2 separate regions of the Homo sapiens genome follow, and region 1 is linked to region 2. Evidence: promoter capture Hi-C in human tissues and cell types (Jung and others, 2019). All regions are on one chromosome and are shown on one strand. The core of a region is centred on a gene start or on the middle of the fragment in contact, and the rest is flanking DNA. Distances in the headings are between cores, read along the strand shown.

Region 1 (4,606 bases), core at 312-2,811, 230 kb before region 2:
CAGGAGAACCAGTTGAACCCGGGAGGCAGAGGTTGCAGTGAGCCGAGATCGTGCCATTGCACTCCAGCCTGGGCAACAAAAGTGAAACTCCGTCTCAGAAAAAAAAAAGGAAAAGAAAATTCCACAATTAACCACACCCTTCGTGTGTCATATTCTTTAAAGCTGAAAACAAGACAGACATGCCCACCTTGCCTCCTGTGTGCAGGGACTGGACTTGGGGGACCTGACAAAGATGAGAAAACGAATAGGGCAAGGATCCCAAAGGAAACTATGGAACTGTCATCATTCCATCCGGGGTGGTGGTGGGTTTCGTTGTTAACTTCTGATTTAACTGGATATTAGCTGGAGAATCTAGTGCGTACTAATTCTTGTATTTTGTCTTGTTTTGTTTTTCTGGGGATGGAATCTCACTCTGTTGCCCAGGCTGGAGTGCAGTGGTGCAATCTCGGCTCACCGCAATCTCTGCCTCCCAGGTTCAAGCAATTCTCCTGCCTCAGTCTCCTGAGTAGCTGGAACTACAGGCGCCCACCACCACGCCCGGCTAATTTTTTGTGTTTTTAGTAGAGGTGGGGTTTCACCGTGTTAGCCAGGATGGTCTCGATCTCCTGACCTCGTGATCTACCCGCCTCAGCCTCCCAAAGTGCTGGGATTACGGGTGTGAGCCACCACACTTGGCCCTAATTCTTGTTTGTTATTGAGATTTACATTCAGGCTAGTTCTTGGTCAATTTTAGGCAACGTCCCGTGGGGGCTTGACTAGAATGTGTGTATTCTACTAGGGGAATGCAGAATTGCCTATATACAGTTAATAGCGTCAACTTTGTTAGTTGCATAGCTAGAAACAGCATAGAAATGCGCTTGCTGTGCTCTAAAACCTTTCATTGCTAATGAATGAAGGGGATAGATTGTATAACATCACACTTAGGAGTGTGCTGTGTGCCAGATCATACACACCCCAGAAGGCCCAAATTGTCACTGACTGTCCCTCTCTTGAGCATGGGACATCGCCAAGAAGGAATTACTCCATATCCAAATAAGCCACATGATCATAGAACTAATTTGTTCCTTTGGGTGGTTGAATTTCCTCTATAGAGATCCCAGGAGGCAACATGAATCCCTCCAGGGCTGGACTGCACAGCCTCCATTGATACCCTCCAGTGACGGGGCACTTGGCCTCTGGTGACACGTCCCCTGGGAATGGGAACTTACTCTGTCATCTTTCAAACCACCTTAAGTGGCTCCAGAAGGGCCAGGACAAAATCCTTGACTTTTTTTTTTTTCTGGCATTATTTGCCAATTCCTTTAACAAATATTAATCAAGCACCTGCTGTTCTAGCCCCTTGGAGTAAACAGTGAGCAAAGCTTTGAGGTGCCTTCCCTCACAGAGTTTATTATAATTTAGGGATAACTAAGTTAGTAGTTTTTCCATTTTCTCCTTGTAAGCCTGTCAAGTTTTGCTTTAAATACATTGAGATGATGTTACTAGGGTTGAAAGAAAATAGAATTGCCTATTTTCTTATTGTTTAGTGCCTTAAAAATTCTTAATAATGATGTTTTACCATAATGTTAAGCTTGTTATGAATATAGCTTCCCAGCTCTTCTGAATCTGCATAGTTCACCTCCACGTGCTGCAGGGCCATTGACGAGAATTCCCGGGGGAGACTTTTGTCCACTCCCAGTCCAGAAAAGGCAGAAAGGCCCAGTGTTACCATAGCTGTTTGATGGGAGGCGTTTCCTTTATGCTGCTCGCTCACTGAGACAGCAATCCCTAATGGCCCTGGTGAGAGGCAGGATTCAAGCACGGTTCTCAGCGCCCACCTCGCTTACGCTGAGCGGCTGCAAGCCCAAGCTCTACGTCCCTGGGATGCCACCCACCCACCCCCAGCCTGCCTCAGCCTATGGGCTCCTTTTTCTATTCTGATCCCGGAAGCAGCCCATACTTTTTTGCAAGCTCAGCTCCACATTTAAAAAGATGTTTGCTTCCGTCTCCCATGCTTTGTCCTGGACATGCAGTGAGTGAGAGTGAAGCTTGCGTCTTCTCTGTAGACCCAGCCATGTTGCTTCCTTCCTTTTCTCAGCTTATTTTCTCCATGGAGCTGGCCCCAAGGTGCCATGAGCCTGAGACTTAGGAGAAAGTAAAAGGCACCACTGAAGACTAAATCTAGGCTACGTGCTGCAGCTGAGATTGGAACCTGTGCTTAGATGTGAACTTCCACATGGGTGCTTCCTTGAAGAGTTGAGCACTCATTCAGACCTTTATAAATTGCCAGATCCATTGAGTTTACCAGCCTCTCTGAGATCACAGGCTCAGGAATCAGATGACTGGGTTTCAAATCCTACCACTTACTAGCTAACTTGTCTGTGTCTTCAACTTCCTCATCTCTAACTAAACATAGTAATTCCTAACTTATACATTTGCTGCAAGGATGGGGCTCAATGGGCACTGGGATAGATTCTACAACACCACATAGTGCAAACTAAGGAATGGCATTTACTGGGGAAATTTAGAAACTAGGAGTCAGGCCCCAAAGGCATAGGGGTCTCCATCTTCTCATAATCCTATGGAAAACTGAACCAATGCAAAGACAAAGCTCTTTGCCATGCAGTGGGCTGCAGTCCTGACCTGAGTGTCCTATCTCCTCGAAGGATGAACACGAACACCACTTTCCAGTAAGGAGACAGGGGGACCACTCGATTGCCAGGCCGTCGGGGTCTAGATGCCAGCAGAGCTGAGAAGGCATCTGAGGAAGGCCAGCTGCCTGGCACCCAGGGAACATGGGTCCTGGGGAGAGGGGCAGCTCTCCTCTTGGGGAATGTTTGCGGCTGGTCCTGTGGGAAACTGAGTTTAGGTGCACATCCTCCTTCGAGGAGGCGGGGAAACTCCAGTTCCAGCCAGCTCATTTCCTAGATCATGTAGACTGAGATCTCAGGATCATTTTTTGAATAGTTCTGCTTGTTGGCCCATGGAGAATTAAGCAAAATAAAGCACATAAAGTAGTTAGTATAGTATCTAACAAGTGCTCACTATATATTAACTGTTATTGTTTTAAAAGGATGTTTGCTAACATTTTCCTAGCGCTTAGAGATATCTGGATTTGGAGAGGTTTCAGATTACTTATCCACAGCATTTCTGGAACCAGAGGGCTTTCCTGAGAAGCGTTTGTAAAAGCAGGAACAACTTAACTTTTCTTACCTTCAGTCTCTCTCTTCTAAGTTTAGTCAAAGCTAGACTCAGGATCAACCCTCCACATCCAAATGTCCTAGGTCATTTGGGACCTGGTTAAAGGGGGCTTCAAATCACCTTGTCCACACTTGCTGTGGCAGGCAGAGTTTAGCAGCTTGAGGAAGCTGAGGCCTGAAGTATTTTGGTTTATCAGGTAACTCTGAACCTTGAAAACGCCAAACATGCAGATTGCCTGTGTGCATTTCATACTCCCCTGCAAAGCAGCTCCTCGCTTCACAGGAAGAGGCGGAACTTAAATCCAAATACAGTTACAGTGTTTATATCCTGGGCTGCACTAGTTAAAAAGAACCTAAGATTTATGGCTCTTTTAGATCACAGAACCAAATCCCAATACCTCCTGTCAGATCTTCTCTCCTTCCAGAAGCAAGTATTTGGGGATTATAAAAAGTGATGTTATGGATGATGTCTCTTAAAATATCAGATCGACTTGATGGCAGGACCTGCTGTTCAAATTTCTTTAGAGACACCTCCTCGCTGCCCCGCCCTTGCCTCTCTCCCGACGAGTGCCAGCCCATGCGCACACACGCACAGGTGTGTGCCCAACCATGTGACTTCCCTGCTACCTCCAGACTAAGCGGGCATTTCCTTTACATGTGCTGTTTTCTCTGCTATTGTCTCCTTCCATCATCCTTTTATTTTAACATATGTTTACTAAATGCCATTGTTCTAGAAACATTGAGGCATATAAAAGTGAATAAAACCAGCAAATAAATTCCCATCCTCGGCCAAGCGCGGTGGCTCATGCCTGTAATCCCAGCACTTTGGGAAGCCGAGGCAGGCGGACCACCTGAGATAGGGAGCTCACGACCAACCTGGCTAACATGGCAAAACCCCGTTTCTACTAAAAATACCAAAAATTAGCCGTGTGTGGTGGTGGGCACCTGTAATCCCAGTTACTCAGGAGGCTGAGACAGGAGAATCTCTTGAACCCAGGAGGCGGAGGTTGCCGTGAGCTGAGATTGTGCCACTGCACTCCAGCCTGGGAGACAGAGGGAGACTCCGTCTCAAAAAAAAAAAAAAAAATCCCCATCCCTAAGGACCCTATATTCCAGTGGCTAGTCATCATTACTGCTACCGTCCATTGAGTATCTGCTGTATACCAGGCTCGGTTCTAGCTGCTTTACCTATACATTATTTCTAATTTGCATAACTTCTCTGAAAGTTGAATTATCAGCCCATCTAACAGATGAAGAAGTTGAGTCTCACAAAAATTAATAAAGCCCCAAAAGTGATTCAAAGCTACATTCCAAAGTCTTTGCTCCTTTCCTGCCAAGGTGGAAATCTTTCACCTGAACCAAACAAGTGTCTTGCTGACCTGTGAAACCCTTACCCTCCCTCCTCCACCCCTGTACCTCCCACATAT
Region 2 (4,003 bases), core at 842-3,341:
GGTTTCCAGCTGAGAATTCACCCACCTCCAACTCACTCTCTTGCCCCCCAACCTTTTCAGGCTCCAAACTTGCAGACAGCAGCCCACAGGATAGACATAAAAGGTGGGGCAGGTCCTTGCCCCCCTTGCCCCAAATGAAATCAGGGTAAGGAGAGGATCCCCTGCAGCTGGGGAGGGGAGGAGGTTGGGTAAGAAAGGGGGAAAGTGGGACATGGAGGTGGGGTGAGCCACCTTCCCTGGCGGCGACCAGCATTCCTTGGTGGCAGGACACCTTGGCCCTGGAGTCTCGAAGAGGCCTCCCTTGGACTCTGTAGCGACCACGGGTCCCACCTCAAGCCTCCTTGGCTTTACCTTCCCCATCAAATAGTCATGTGCCCTCCTGCCCTGCCCAACCCCAGAGTTCAAGAGAGAAAAACATTCATTACGAACGCCTTTTATCCCTGGCCAAATCCAAGCCTCTTTACCTCGCTATATATATATAGATATACATATTTGTCTCATCCCACTTCCCTCTCCAGGTCTAGTGAACCATCAACTCCAAGGCTAGAGCTGAGCAGACCCCTCCAGAAAGGCTCATCTCCCAAAAAGCAGCCATTCCCCACCTGGCTCCCGAGGCGCATACTTAATAAAGTCAGTCTAATCTCCGAACGCGATCCTTCCCCAAATACAAAAATAACAGAGCTGTGGCTGGGGCTGTCATGTTGCCCGCCCCATTGTGAATGGCTTCAAAACTCCCTGAATAAAGATAAGAGAGGATTGTGTACGTTTTCAACACAAATGGTGGAAAGTAATAAAATAAACATCAAAGGTGAGCTCCCACCTACTAGCGGCTCCGTCGCTTTTTGTGCAACAAAGGCAGGAAAAAGGAGGAAACTCGGCGTGGCAGGGCAGCGGGCTGGAAGTGCACCTTCCCGGGGCCGAGGCGCCCGCTCCCTGGACTAATGACGCCGCGTGGGGATCACGCCCCGGGCGCCCTGGGGTGAGGAACGGTCCCCCCTTTCGAGATTGTCCGACACTGGTGCCAGTGAGGTCACAGCAAAAGTCCCAAAGGAATATTGGAAAGAAATGGCCGTGAACCGGTTTGTTCTTGCCCCCGCCCCCGGGAACACGCCCTCTCCGTCGTTCCTGTTGACTGTCAGATCCCGGGAACCAAGCGGCGGAGCTCGGCGGCATCTGAGGCTTCCGCAGGGACACAAGTGCAGGCACAGCCCAGCACCCTGCGCCAGACACAGCCGCCCCAGGGGAAGAGGAGGACGCTGCTGTCCTCCCGCAGGAGTCACCAGCCAGGTAAAGAAAAAGGTAAAGTAAGACAAAGAAAAGTGAAAGTCGGAGCCCATTTAGTGAGCAAGAGTAAAGGTCATCCAAAAAGGCGCATACAATTTCAAGCCCAGGAGTGCATTCATTAAAACAAGAGGAAAAGACAAGATGGTCCTTGAAAGGAGCTCATAGGAAGGGGCACAGCACAAGGCTCCCGAAAGAGGTCACTGCAAGTGTCCTGCGCAATTTCTGTTCAGCACCTCTGCAGTGACGACAGGGGTTTGCTTTCGTAAGCAGCATCGTTTTCACTACTACAGAAGCACATACGCCGCGTGCAGCTTAGGCCCGAGCAAAGTCCCTGCTCCCCTAGACCCAGTCCCTTCAGGTGTCCCCCTAGGGGAACTGTGGCGTGTCCCCCCAACCAGGCGCACTCGCCTAAACTGCGTCCCCGAACTCCAGGGCGCAGGGAGCCCTCGCGGGCTGCCCGGGGCTGGGGCCCACACCTGAACGGAGGAGCCGGCTGGCGGAGCGGCCCCGCGCGCGCACACACGCACACTCACAGACACGCGCAAACCCACAGCGGCGCGCGCGCTCCCCATTGGCGGGAGGAGGAAGGCGGGGCCGGCCGACCCAAAACAAACAACCTGCGCCAGCGACTTTGCCGCCGCGCTGCAGTGTGGCCTCCGCCTGGTGCGCGCCCGTTGGGGAGCTGGGGAACTGGGGAGCCGCCACCACCTCGGCCACCTCGTTCCCCCACCCCTTGCCGTCCGCGCTCAGGCCCCGCCCCCGCGGAGCCGCCGCAGGGTTATATTGGGCCGGCCCGAAGGTGGAGGCGAGACGCAGCCGCGGCAGGCCAGCGGGGAGATGCTGCCCCGGAGGCTGGGAGCGGGAAGGCGGCTGCGGGCGCAGCGGCCTCGGGGACTCGCCTCCGCGGGTGCTCAAGGCTGAAGGCGCCGGACCTTCCCCCACGGTGGCACGCACATCATCCGGCACCATTTCCGTGCCCCGAAGACGCCCGCGCGGGACCTGGGACCGCCAGTGAAGAACCCCTCCTGGGCTCTTTAACGAGCAGCAGATGCGCATGCTGCTTCTCTCCGGCAGGAAAGCCTTCTAAGCCCGGCGTGCTCGGGCACCCGAGGGTGGAACCGCGGCCCCTGCACACACTCACCCCAAAGTCTCAACGTCGAACCGAAGGCGACACCCACCCAACTCCTCCCTCTCCGCCCCATAGTCCACCCAACACTTGCAGCCCCTCCAGAGAAAAAGCCCAGCGGAAGAGGACTCCGGAAAAGTGACTATCTCGGAAGACCAGGGTAGAGCTCCCGGGAGAAAAAGGCGAAGATCCCCGGCCCCGGATCGCCATCCCCTTCCCTGGCACCAGCTTCTCTAGGCTGCGCGAAGGAAGAGGGTACGACGCCGGGGAGGGACTGGGTGCGCGGGCATGAAGTTGGAGGTGTTCGTCCCTCGCGCGGCCCACGGGGACAAGCAGGGCAGTGACCTGGAGGGCGCGGGCGGCAGCGACGCGCCGTCCCCGCTGTCGGCGGCGGGAGACGACTCCCTGGGCTCAGATGGGGACTGCGCGGCCAACAGCCCGGCCGCGGGCGGCGGCGCCAGAGATACGCAGGGCGACGGCGAACAGAGTGCGGGAGGCGGGCCGGGCGCGGAGGAGGCGATCCCGGCAGCAGCTGCTGCAGCGGTGGTGGCGGAGGGCGCGGAGGCCGGGGCGGCGGGGCCAGGCGCGGGCGGCGCGGGGAGCGGCGAGGGTGCACGCAGCAAGCCATATACGCGGCGGCCCAAGCCCCCCTACTCGTACATCGCGCTCATCGCCATGGCCATCCGCGACTCGGCGGGCGGGCGCTTGACGCTGGCGGAGATCAACGAGTACCTCATGGGCAAGTTCCCCTTTTTCCGCGGCAGCTACACGGGCTGGCGCAACTCCGTGCGCCACAACCTTTCGCTCAACGACTGCTTCGTCAAGGTGCTGCGCGACCCCTCGCGGCCCTGGGGCAAGGACAACTACTGGATGCTCAACCCCAACAGCGAGTACACCTTCGCCGACGGGGTCTTCCGCCGCCGCCGCAAGCGCCTCAGCCACCGCGCGCCGGTCCCCGCGCCCGGGCTGCGGCCCGAGGAGGCCCCGGGCCTCCCCGCCGCCCCGCCGCCCGCGCCCGCCGCCCCGGCCTCGCCCCGCATGCGCTCGCCCGCCCGCCAGGAGGAGCGCGCCAGCCCCGCGGGCAAGTTCTCCAGCTCCTTCGCCATCGACAGCATCCTGCGCAAGCCCTTCCGCAGCCGCCGCCTCAGGGACACGGCCCCCGGGACGACGCTTCAGTGGGGCGCCGCGCCCTGCCCGCCGCTGCCCGCGTTCCCCGCGCTCCTCCCCGCGGCGCCCTGCAGGGCCCTGCTGCCGCTCTGCGCGTACGGCGCGGGCGAGCCGGCGCGGCTGGGCGCGCGCGAGGCCGAGGTGCCACCGACCGCGCCGCCCCTCCTGCTTGCACCTCTCCCGGCGGCGGCCCCCGCCAAGCCACTCCGAGGCCCGGCGGCCGGCGGCGCGCACCTGTACTGCCCCCTGCGGCTGCCCGCAGCCCTGCAGGCGGCCTCAGTCCGCCGCCCTGGCCCGCACCTGCCGTACCCGGTGGAGACGCTCCTAGCCTGAGTAGCGCCGCGGGGCCCGGGAACGCCGAGTGCGCGCCGTCGGGGAGGCGGGAACGCGGGCCCGCGCGCGGACTTTGCACTTTGAATCCAGAGG

The links. Contacts are between HindIII fragments. The study calls those that stand out against the background at their distance.
Region 1: a contact is called between a fragment that was not itself captured here and the fragment with the promoter of FOXQ1 in region 2, in 2 of the 25 tissues and cell types used here (dorsolateral prefrontal cortex and lymphoblastoid cells).

Annotation. Positions count from the first base shown.
Region 1 is chr6:1,083,888-1,088,493 of GRCh38, forward strand. All of the region lies in intron 1 of LINC01622 (long intergenic non-protein coding RNA 1622), which reads right to left. Among named protein-coding and RNA genes, the nearest start is that of LINC01622, 15 kb to the right of the region's middle. The HindIII fragment of the contact is 4,020 bases long and covers 1-3,571 here.
Region 2 is chr6:1,310,007-1,314,009 of GRCh38, forward strand. It overlaps FOXQ1 (forkhead box Q1), which reads left to right and starts at 2,092. Exons shown (of 1, transcript NM_033260.4): 1 at 2,092-4,003. The coding sequence starts at 2,699. The coding sequence ends at 3,910. RefSeq lists an enhancer at 2,546-3,262. The HindIII fragment of the contact is 14,044 bases long and covers 616-4,003 here.